Linked DNA regions of Homo sapiens: region 1 is linked to region 2. Evidence: promoter capture Hi-C in 16 types of primary human blood cells and fetal thymus (Javierre and others, 2016). All regions are on one chromosome and are shown on one strand. Each heading gives the region's core, a stretch centred on a gene start or on the middle of the fragment in contact. The rest is flanking DNA. Distances are from core to core; before and after follow the strand shown.

The links. The method cuts DNA at HindIII sites, captures the fragments that hold promoters and counts their contacts. A CHiCAGO score of 5 or more calls a contact.
Region 1: a fragment that was not itself captured here is called in contact with the fragment with the promoter of MARCHF6 in region 2 in 2 of 17 cell types (naive CD4 T cells and activated CD4 T cells); the score reaches 5.3 in naive CD4 T cells.

What each region holds. Positions count from the first base shown.
Region 1 is chr5:8,456,232-8,462,000 of GRCh38, forward strand. MIR4458HG (MIR4458 host gene) reads left to right here and starts at 1,456. Exons shown (of 2, transcript NR_039989.1): 1 at 1,456-1,535; 2 at 3,702-5,769. It overlaps MIR4458 (microRNA 4458), which reads left to right and starts at 4,694; the gene lies at 4,694-4,768. It overlaps LINC02226 (long intergenic non-protein coding RNA 2226), which reads right to left and starts at 1,333. Exons shown (of 6, transcript NR_039984.1): 1 at 1,218-1,333. It also overlaps the pseudogene LOC100419318. RefSeq lists an enhancer at 1,046-1,145 and silencers at 1,666-1,715, 1,726-1,785. The HindIII fragment of the contact is 639 bases long and covers 3,875-4,513 here.
Region 2 is chr5:10,351,506-10,356,878 of GRCh38, forward strand. MARCHF6 (membrane associated ring-CH-type finger 6) reads left to right here and starts at 2,190. Exons shown (of 26, transcript NM_005885.4): 1 at 2,190-2,412. The coding sequence starts at 2,394. It overlaps MARCHF6-DT (MARCHF6 divergent transcript), which reads right to left and starts at 2,552. Exons shown (of 3, transcript NR_183261.1): 1 at 2,467-2,552; 2 at 33-268. RefSeq lists enhancers at 1,749-2,008, 2,855-3,426 and silencers at 2,149-2,288, 2,329-2,798. The HindIII fragment of the contact is 4,878 bases long and covers 1-3,597 here.

The sequences.
Region 1 (5,769 bases), core at 2,944-5,443, 1.9 Mb before region 2:
ATTTCTTTTAGCAGCATTCCATCACTATCTGCTTCTTCCACTTCAGAAACCTGCAAAACTGCTGTAGAATATCAAGCAGTTGTTCTAGTGAAGTCAATTATTTTTTAGCTCACTGCAAAACATCTGTTGACCCACGTTTTAGTCTTCTGTTCACTCTCTTCCAAGTATGTACTTGGGAAAACAACAGGACATCAACCAGGCAAGCTCATTACCATTTTCCACAGATAAATCTTTACAGTCGGTGTGAAAAATCTCACCCTGAACTATGGTGGCTGTAGTGAAAAGAACCATGGACAGACACAAGTATGACTTGTGAACATGATTCATAAAGCACCCAGAGCCCCAGTGTGGCAACACCAGATGAATGAAAAAGGTTCTACCATGTTATCAAAATCATGTCATTCTCACTTTCCCTCAACAGTACCTAAATTTTAAAAAGAATATAAGCATAATGATGAAATACTACAAAAGTATCAATTGAGATCACACTGCACTCAATGAAAATTATCCATGTTTATGAAAATAAAGATCTGTATCCAAAAAAATAGCAAAGTGTCCACAATAAATTATAAACACCAGGACATCAGGGACATTGATCTCTATATCCCAAAGCCTAGAAAAGTGCCCAGCACCTAATAACAATACTAACTTTTGAACATTTCACCACGTGCCAGGCACAGTTCTGATATGCTCCATGTTTCAACTTAAGGCTTACAGGCCAGGCTTACAGGCCACCAGTGAATCTATAAAGTTTCAGTTTATATATGAGAACTGAAGCACGGGATTAGATAATATTCCGAGACAACACAAATTAGTAGCAGATGGGTTAAACTCAGGCCGCGCATGTCTAGAATATGCACACTTACATGCTTGTTGAAAAAACTGTGTTGATTAGTATCAAACTAGCTTTAGAAAATAGAAGTTAAAAAAGGCAATAGACTTTGGCAAATTATTTGAGTAAAACGTCAAATGTCAGATATGTCGAGGCATGGGTAGCCTTCTAAGGGGTCACGTCTATGGAAGGAAAAAGTTTGGCTTAACAAATAGGAAAGTGAGAAAAAGAATGAAACAGTAAAATAACAGGATCTCGTGATGGGGAAAAGGCGGCCTGCCCAGACCTAAACGCCTCGCGGCCTCGCAGGCGACGCGGGGATGACTCAGCAGGACAGAAGGGAGGGAAGCTCCAGACGCCACGGCCCTCTTCGAGATGAAAGTACCTCCCATCCTAAGGGACTGGCGTTCCAGGAACAGCTGCGCTGGCTGAGCCGGCTCAGTGAGGCGGAGCGGCCAAGCCTTCAGTCCACTCCCACTCCCCGATGAAAAACCCAAGACCGGGTAGCGCAGCCCCTCCGCGCACGCGTAACACGAGGAGACACCGCCCACACGCCAGACGCGCTGTGATTGGCCCCAGCTACCCTCGGACCGAGATTCCTATTGGTCCCAGGTGTCGAGCATGCGCACTTTGGTCGTGGGCGCGTGTGTGGAATGGGAGGAGGTCGCGCTGTCCATGGGCGTCCTTGGCCTGCGCCACCCAGGTGAGCGCTCCGGAGGCTGCGATCCCCGGGTCCCGACCGCCCGCCTAGCACTGGCCTGATGGGGAAGCGTCCCGGGACTGGAAGGGCAGCCGGCTTGCGCGCGTGGTTCCCACGCCCCTCGGGCTCGGGGGATCGCTCCGGGTGCTGGCTGCGGGCTCGGCGGGGAGGACCCCGGGAGCGCGTCCCTGGGCCCCACGTCGGCCTCTGCGCGGGCAAGCCCCTGGGCTCTTTGGCTCTAGACGCTTTCCAGGCCTGGGGAAACCGCATGCGTGGACGTGGGAAACGGGGCGCGTGACGGGGAGGGGCGCGCCCCGGGGGCCTGTGGTCGTTCCGAGCTTCCACCTGGCCCGACGCAGGCATGTGCCCTGCCCGCCGCGTCGTCCCTGGGCCTGCGGGGGCTGGGGCCTCAGCTGAGAGTCCTGGGAAGGTGGTGCTGGATTGTGGCTCTGTCGCGGGGATGAGGGGTTGATCTGGGAAGCCCTCAGGATGTGTGTGTGGCTCCTGGAAGGTGACGCACATTGTTAGCTTCAGTAAGGTTTTCAACACCATGTTTCCGCAGAACTTGGTCATAATAACTATATCGCCTTCTAATAGTGCTTTTGGGGAGTTACTCATTTTAACAGCTACTACGTGTTGAATGTCCTCTTGTTTGCCAGGTGCAGTTCTCATCCCTAGGGGTGGAGAGTTGAAGAAGATATATTCAGTTATTTTCTTTTTTAATGCTTGAGCTAACAATGATTTTATCCTTTGCTTTCTTAAAGGTTTAATTTGCTCTTAGGTGGACAGAAAAGCATAAACTGAATTTTAACTACAAGTTGGTCACAGTTGAAAAGCCTCATGTGTGGTTTGAGTTTTAGCTTAGATCTCTCCTTACATGTCTTTCCTGACAGCTCCTCAGATTTAGACAGTGTGAGGATCAAAACTGTATGAAGGTGCTTTACTCTTGATAATCTGTGAACGTCAACTAGGAAAATTTTGAGTGTATTAGAAATGTTTTTCGAACTCTTTGAGAGTCTAGGCAATTTCACTTGGGTTCTGTGATTAATTTGCAAAGTATTAGGATGAAATCAAGAAACCTGCAGTTTTAATTGAATTGACTTTGGTTTTGTTTCTCAAAAAGTGGGACAACAAAAATACCTACTTAAGACTACTGTTTCAGGCACTGTCTAATTGCATTCATCAGATCTTATTATATTCATTCCATGAGGAATCGAAGACCTATTCAGTCAAGCAGCAGCCCAAGGTTACACGTCTAATAAAGGGCACATTCCCAGATCAAGCCCATGTAGGCTGACTCTAGATTCTGATTTTGAACTGCTCTGTTTCTGAATTGGAGTTTAACTCCTCTGTTACCCCTAGATTAATGGTGAGTATTTTCTCTCACCCAAGTTAATTCCATTAACTCTAATCAGAACCCTAATTTAGCATATTTCCAGTACAGTAGTTGCGGATCCATCCTACTCTAGAGTTTTTGTGCTATGTGTTAACTGTCTTTTATAAATGAAGGGACGGCTTCCTCTGTAACATACGGGAGCATTGTATAATCTTTGAACAGGCAAAAGCATTCCAGAGAAAAGATAGATGAATTTCATATATTTTTATTAAAACAATTTTATTAAAACATAGATAAATACTGGATTATTTAAGCAAGTTGCAGTCTATGTAGGTTAACCACTAAGCTATGCTTCCTCTCTTTGCATGCGTGTGTGTGTATACGTGTGTTTTTCCTAAAGATACATCAAGGCTTAGTACTTTCACAATGAGTTAAGTCCTGCGCTGTGCCTTGAAAGATGAAGGGAGGGAGTTAGAGGCAAAGATGAATTAACAGGTTAACAGGATCCGGGTCCAAGTCCTTAGATGCCTATTAAAGAGTTCAGGCTTCACTCTGCGGGAAGTAGGAAGATTTTTGAAAGACTAAGTACTGGAAGGACATGATCAGGTTTGCAACTTAGAACTATCACTGTGGCTGCAGACCTAAGAGTAGACGAGAAGGGTGGGTAGAAAGGTTAGGAAACTACATTTTCCGAAGAAAAACATGGAAAGAACTGAAAGGGTGATCCTGGAGTCAGAGCCAGGTAGAGAGTTTAGGGATTTAAGGAGGATTTGGTAAGAGATTTATTGTGAATCCTACATCCTAAAATTTTAATGTTTTTTTTTCTTTTCTAGAGATGATAAATAGCCAAAGACGTCAATGGCACCCATGGACATAGTAAGCATAGTAGGAGCTGAAAAACTAGAAGCAATGACAATGTCAACTATTTTGAGCAAAAAGAAGCAGTGTCTTCGGAACATTTGATCATAAAACCAGAAATTAAAGGATGAGAAAAACATTTTTCTGAAGCTTATACTTTCACATTTCCTAGAGAGCATATTTGTGTGGATGGGGGTGGGTAAACACTCAACAAAAGTTTCTTTAAAAAGAAGAAACCATCCTGGTTTGATGTAATCAATGGTTGCCCACTGCTCCCTTCCTGTGCCTGTGACCCTTCCCAAACTGCCCTGTTGCTTGCAGGCTCGCCTGAGCTGAAAGGCAGCCCTCACATCCCGTCGGCACCTCCCTGGGGCCTTCTTTACACCCTGGAGAACTTCACAGGGAATCTGTGTCTGTAACACAAAGGCTTCCTGGTCCAGATGTAGATACTAAGGCTGACTGGTTATTTAAGTCCTGCGGACTTACTCTGCCAAAATTATTTAATCATGTAAAAATAATTTATAATTCTTATAAAGTATCCCCTTCATAATATAATGAATGTTGGTGCTATTACATTTAAGTGCACATGTACAGTATACAAGATTATTAATAATAATGTTTTCAAATAGTTATTGTCAAAGCTATTTTTCTTATGTTTATGAAAGTGCTTATAAAATTCATGTTTTATGAGGCTGGAGATGTATATTTTGTAATTTCATTCTGATATTTGTTAATATTCGCTTCCAATGCTGGTTTTGTTTGATGAGACTGACATTGCCTAATTTCAAGCTTTTTGAATGTGTATTCTTTCAGGGCAAGTATGAAATAACTAGTAAAAAATATACAAATATGCTTAACAATAAGTAGACTTTCTCACATTGATTACTTACAACAGCTTTATGTGGGGTGAATCAGATGCCTGTATTACAGAAGCATCTAATGCAAAGCAAAATAAAAACACTTGCATGAGCGCACAGAGGTAGGTGTGGAAGAAAGTGAAACACTATTTTAGGTTTTAGTTACACTCTGCTGTGGTGTGCTGCCTAGTATTTGCAGGTTAATGCAAATACTAGGGGTTATGAATTGTTTCTAAGTTTATTATTAAAAATAGCCTTGCTTCATTTCTTCCTAAAATGGAGACAAATATGTATAGTGTCTGTGTTACCAGTATGTGTAAGAGTAATATCTTAATGCGTGTAAAATGTTTATAGGAACCTGTATTTCAAAGAGCTATTTTTGCAAGTGACACTATCCTTTTAAGAAACTTTTTTATTCAAACTTTTTCCTCCATTTATAACTATTCTATTATTTCTTAATGTTCAGAACCCTTTTCATTATCTATAAGGTTAAATTTTAGGTAAGTAATGAGAAAATAATAATATGTGGAGAAGAAATGAGTGAGGAGTCGAGATGTGTGTCAATCAAGAATGAGTTTGTCAGCCCTTGTATTATGATTTTACTCGGGAGGGGATAATTATTGAAGGATGTAATGTAAGGGCAGTGATACTATATGGTATGTAAGACTGTTAAAATCACTGAGGTAAGCTATTACTTGAACTAAGCATAGAAATAGAGACAGATTTTTAATGCATTTAATTATCAAAATATCTAAATTAAAGATTTGATGTGGTTGTTCACTGGAAACAAATGGCAGACAAACAGAATATTTCTTGGAATCATAAATGACATCATCCTGTCTCCAACTTTCTGTGTAGCTTCTTTCTTTAGTTGGTCTTTGCTTAGATTTCCCTGTGTCAGAGACGACTTCCCTGGATATCAGTGACAGTTATTGATTGCTCATGCTATGAACTCCTCCCATTTCTCAGCCCTCTTGCAGTAGGTGGGGCCATGGTACTAGTTGTGGCTTATTGCTTAAAGACTTTAAGGCTCCATGTGTGACTTTCCAGCTCTGGTCCACTGCTACTGCGGCTCTGGCAGGACTAGGGAGGTGCCCCGTGTCTCAGATGGTGCAGCCTCCATCCAGCTGTGTCCCTGAATGACTAGAGCACAGCCACTGGTGACCTGTGGTGGACGTAGAATGTG
Region 2 (5,373 bases), core at 940-3,439:
TTTAACTTGGGACTAGAGATCATCATCCTTACCTCGCCTGTCTGATGATGAGGCAGAAGATGAAATGTTGGGAGCTGTCAGTGGCCTTGTTTCCAGACATATGGAGGAAGCTGGTCTAACAGCATGAAGCCAATGTGCAGAGAGAGTTGCAGAGCTGAGCCATAGGGGCAGAGGCATTCTCGTTCTAGTAGTCCCAGCAGTCCCTCCCCTTCTTGGAGTCTGTCCATATCAACAGTACATTCCTCCCTTCTGCCTAACAGTTGAGTTCCTGTCAATGGCAACCAAGAGAGGTGTGACTGATTCATGTATTCAAAGGGCTGTTGTGAGAACTTGTGCCTGACTCACAGTGGGGACTCAACAAATGTTGGTTTATTACTCTTATATTTAACGCCTAAAGTCTGAATGCGAAAAGGTTAGGGCAATTCCAGAAGGAATTACTATGCAGAAGGGAAAACTGGTTGACAGGTTAACTTTCCTTTGAACATCACAAGGGAAGGCACCTAAATACAAAAGGAAGGCTTCCTCCACGCCCCCCATACACACACATTCCCTTCATCCTAACCTGGCTCTGCAGCTCCGAGGGTCACATACCTGCCCTTGGCACTACTAGTACTTCCTCCAGCAAGTCTCAGTCTTTCTTTCAGAATCCTTCGCCCTTATGCCATGTAACATCTGATCGGCCCGGTCTTTGCCCCTAGTATCAGCAGGCCAATACGTGCTCTGCTACAGGTCTTACAGGGAGGGTGAGCTCTTGGAGTTGGATCAGAAGGAGAGGGGCTGGGGAAAGATCGTCTTCAAATTGTTTCTTTGGCGGTAGTATATATAAACATATTTAGGCAGGGCATAGTGGCACATGTCTGTAACCCCAGCACTTTGGGAGGCCGAAGCGTGAGGATCGCTTAAAGACAGGAGTTGAAAATCATACTGGTCAATATAGTGAGATTGCAGTGAGCCATTATCGCGCCACTGCATTCCTGCCTGGGTGACAGTGCGAGACCCCTTCTCAAAAAAAAAAAAAAAAAAAGAAAGAAAAAAATCATAAGCAAACAACAACAAAAAAACAAATATAAAGAATGGCGGTCTGCTTAATTCTCCGTGCCAGCCCTTGAAATCAGTGGGTATTATTATGTAGAGTTTGAGTTCTTTCCTCCCTTGAGTAACATGAGTGACATCAGTAACATTAGTCAAGCGCTGCTCTTTTTGAAAGACTGTATTTCATTATTTTTATTCTAAACCTTACTCTGTTTGATGAAGATTGGGGGAAGAGCCCTCCCAATTCCACCGCTCACACATAACAGCGGTTGCTAGCATTCTTTATTTGTGCTAGGTCATCTGCATATTGTTTAAACATTTTTCGAGGCTGGAAAGACTGCTCCCACTCAGGCAATTCTGACGTGGCGGCCCTTCTAATTTATATTCTCTAAATAATTCTTCATTTAGAGAAAACAGTCAGGGATTACAGTGAGGGAGGGTGACGTGCTGACGGGGACAGAGCTTGGCTTTTGATCATTCTCCCCTTAGCTCTGCCCAGGCAAGCGTCCCTAACTCAGGGTATCGGAACCGATCTCCCTTAGAGGATTATGTTTCAACCACCAGCCTCAGCGGTTTACTCAAATGTCCTTCCAGCCAAATGCAGAAGTCTCCCTGGGAGTAATTTTGGTGAAGTCAGCTTTTGCCTTTTTCATCACAGGCAGGCTTTAGTAGTTCCTCAAAACGTGCACCACAACTGCCCGGCTGCCAAACAGAAATGCTGATGCCTGGGCCCACTCTAGCCATTTGGCCTCGGCATCACGGTGCGGGAGCGTGGGGCGCAGACTCGCATTGTCACAGGAACCTCCCGGCCTTCCGAAGAGCCCCGCGCCGGGGCCTTTGTCTCGCACGTCGGCTGGGGCGGGAGCTAGGTTCTCGCAGCCTCCTCCCACCGCTCTGCGCCTTCTTTGTCCCTCCAGAAGCCGCCATCAAAGCTCAGCTCCTGATTAGGTTTCGGCCCCGCTGGCCGGCGCAGTCTCGGCGACTACCCCAGGCGGCCTGGCGCACGCGAGGATTCGCCGCGCCCCAGATGCAGGTGCCTCCCCTCCTTAGCCGCCGACCGACAGTGCACGCCGCGGCCGCCGGAAGTGACAGCGCCTGTCGTTGGGGAGCTCCCGCCCCTTCCGCCTCGGCGCCCCGCCCAGGCCTCGCCCCTAGGTGTTCCCGCCCCTCCCCCTCCCGTGTCGCTCGCTTTCTGTCAGCCTCTCTCCCTCTCCCTCTCCCCTCTCCTTCCTCTCGCTTCCTCTCTCGCACCTGAGCGTACGCACCTGCCCGGGCCCGGCTCCCTCCTCCTCTCCCCTCCCTCTTTCCCCGCCCGGCCGCGGGAGCCTCGTGGCTGCGTCACCGCCGCCCCCCCAGACAAGATGGACACCGCGGAGGAAGGTAAGTCGGCGACGCGCGGCGCCCGAGCCCTTGCGTCGGCGCCCGGGTTCGTACCCCGGCCAGGTCCGCGGCGCTCGAGGTGGGCTGCTGGATCGCGGCGGGGCGGACGCCTGGGCCGTTTGTCCACCCGCTGGGCCTCTGGGCCGGGGAGCGGAAGGTGACCCTCTGCGCGCCCCCCGCCGTTTCCCGCCCGCGCCGCCGAGGGGGGCGGGGACCCTGCCGGGCAGGGGCCGGGGCCGGGGTCGGGGCCTCGGGGCTACTGCAGGCCGGCGTGGCCTCCCTTGTCCCCGCCGTCGCGCGCTGGCCCAGAAAAGGGGGCCTCTGTCGCTGCCGTCCGGGGGCGTTTTCCGCACCCTTCCCCCACTGGGTTTTGTCTTTCTTTACGTCCTTCTGCCTATTGCTCGCCAGGCCCTACCCCCTCGCGACAGAACTTCTTTGTTGACTTTGAAACTTCGCGAAAAATACCCCGCCAGATGACGGCCGAGTGGAGTGAGCTGACCCCTGTTGAAAAGCCTGGTCCTCGGCTTGCCTGCCGCTCGAGAATCTGTTTACTAAACGGGGAGGCTCTTTTGTTGCGATCCATTTGGTTTTAAATCCTTGACACCTATAAGCAGGGTTCTGTTTGTTTTGTTTTGCGATTGCTTGTGTTTTGGATACGGTTACATTGAACAAACTGACCCTTGTAAAATGAATACTTAAGATATAAACGTCCACACCTTATGTCTCTTCAAACGCATTTTCTTACCCACTGAAGGTAGTAGATTATTTTTAACCAGCTGTGTTTTTAAATGAGTGGTGAGTTTATAGAGGAAATTACTAAATTTTGCTTTTTTTGATGTTCCGGTTATCGTGCAAATGCTTTTCTACTTTAGGTATATTTATGGGGGTATGAGCGTCTTTCAACCTTATGGGTTGCGATTTTGGCGATTTTAAACGAAAATGAATTATCAAACGCCGTCATGGAGTGCAATAATGAGTGAAAAAAGTTTGATATTATCTATGTAATGAGTTGATAACGACTTATTTTTTTTTAAAGAAGTCTTGCCTTTAATAAATACCTCAACTATAACATGTGGCACTTGATGTACATTCGCGTTCCATCTTCGTAAAAAGCCTGTGGAATAGGTAGGTATTATCTTTTATAGATGTGGAAATGTAGGCTTCGTTATTTTAATAGCTTGTCGAAGCTTTACACAGGTAGTAAGAGGCAGATTTGAACCTAGGCATTCTGATTGCAAGTAATTTCCCTTTCATTATGCCACAGTGTGTTTATTATATACACTGAGTGTAGCTAATCGCCACTGGAGACGCCTTTGGAAAAAATAGTAAAGCGAAACTGCTGAAGGTTGCGAACTATTTCTTTTTGACAGGTGGTCCTTGCGTGTAAATTTCCATCTACATAGGTTTCACATCCTTTTAGATTCAGGTTTTAATGAGTAAATCTAGTAAGGCATGTATTTATCACAGGATAGGTACGGACGTATTACATTCAATTCTCATTCTTTTGGCCTGGGCATTGCTACTTGCATACTTTTATGGTGTGACAGTAATCTGTGGTAATTCAGGAATTGCGCTCGAAGCACGTATGGAATCATGAAATATTTTCACTGTACTTCTAGTGCTTAAATATATTTTTTCTCTTGTAAAATTATAATCAGGATAAGGTATACATAACATTTATTTATTGAACACTGTTGCCTGTTAAAATAACATGTGCTGAAGACTCAACGTGTAGTATGTGCTTTACTAAACACTTTATATACATTTCATTTAATTCTCTCACATCGTTAGGTAGTCGGCATTTTCATTTTACAGATGAGGAAACTGATGGTTAGTATGATTAAGTAACTTGTCCAGGATAATACAGGTAGTAAATGGCAGAGGCAAGATTCAGACTCATGTCTGTCAGAGTCGCACTTAAATTAGATTATTTATTTATGAGTGTATACTACAAGTCCAATGTTGAAATTTATTTTTGTCACTCCCTCTATAGGATGAATCATTTATATAATTTGGTGGAAACTTTATTTTGCTTTATTTTGTTTTATGAAATTATTAGTCATGAAATGCAAGTGAATTTTAGTGCCGTATTCTCATGCCTGCTTTTGCAAAATTCCAGTTTGGAAGTCTTCTGACATTTTTACAATTAAATTTAAGTTGAAATAACACTTAAAGGAAAAGGGAGGGTTATAGAGGATTAAAAATGATATAGCAAAGATGCCAAAAAACTAATAAAAAATGTTCTATTTGTGAAATCAGTTATTATAGGTTATTTCTTTAAAAAATGCGACTTAGGTTTTTTAAATCTGCTTAGAAATTTTTTGGTAGGAGATATTCAAAGTATGGCCAAACATAAAACTAAATTAAAAAAAAATCAGTATCACCTACTTTTGAAAACACTTATACTGTTGTGGTTCTGTTTTTTATTTATTTTATTTTATTTTATTTTATTTTATTTTATTTTATTTTATTTTATTTTATTTTATTTTATTTTCCGAGATGGAGTCTTGCCCTGTTGCCCAGGCTGAAGTGCAGTGGCATGATCTCTGCTCACTGCAACCTCCACCTCCCAGGTTCAAGCGATTCTCCTGTCTCAGCCTCCTGAGTAGCTGGGATTACAGGAGCGCGCCACCTCCCTCTGCTAATTTTTGTGTTTTTAGTAGAGATGGGGTTTCGCCATGTTGGCCAGACTGGTCTCAAACTCCTGACCTCAGGTGATCTGTCCGCCTCAACCTCCCAAAATGCTGGGATTACGAGCGTGAGCTACCGTTCCTGGCCGGTTCTCTGTCCTTTAAAAATATATTTTAATATTCTGAGCAAAGAGATTAAGAATGTTACAAACACATCAACCGTGCGTATAGTAAGTCTTCCCTTCCTTTTAAAAATAGCACATTGCTTGCCTCTGATGGTACCATATATGATAGTCTGATGCTCAGAATGTTATGCATTTGTAGTAATACT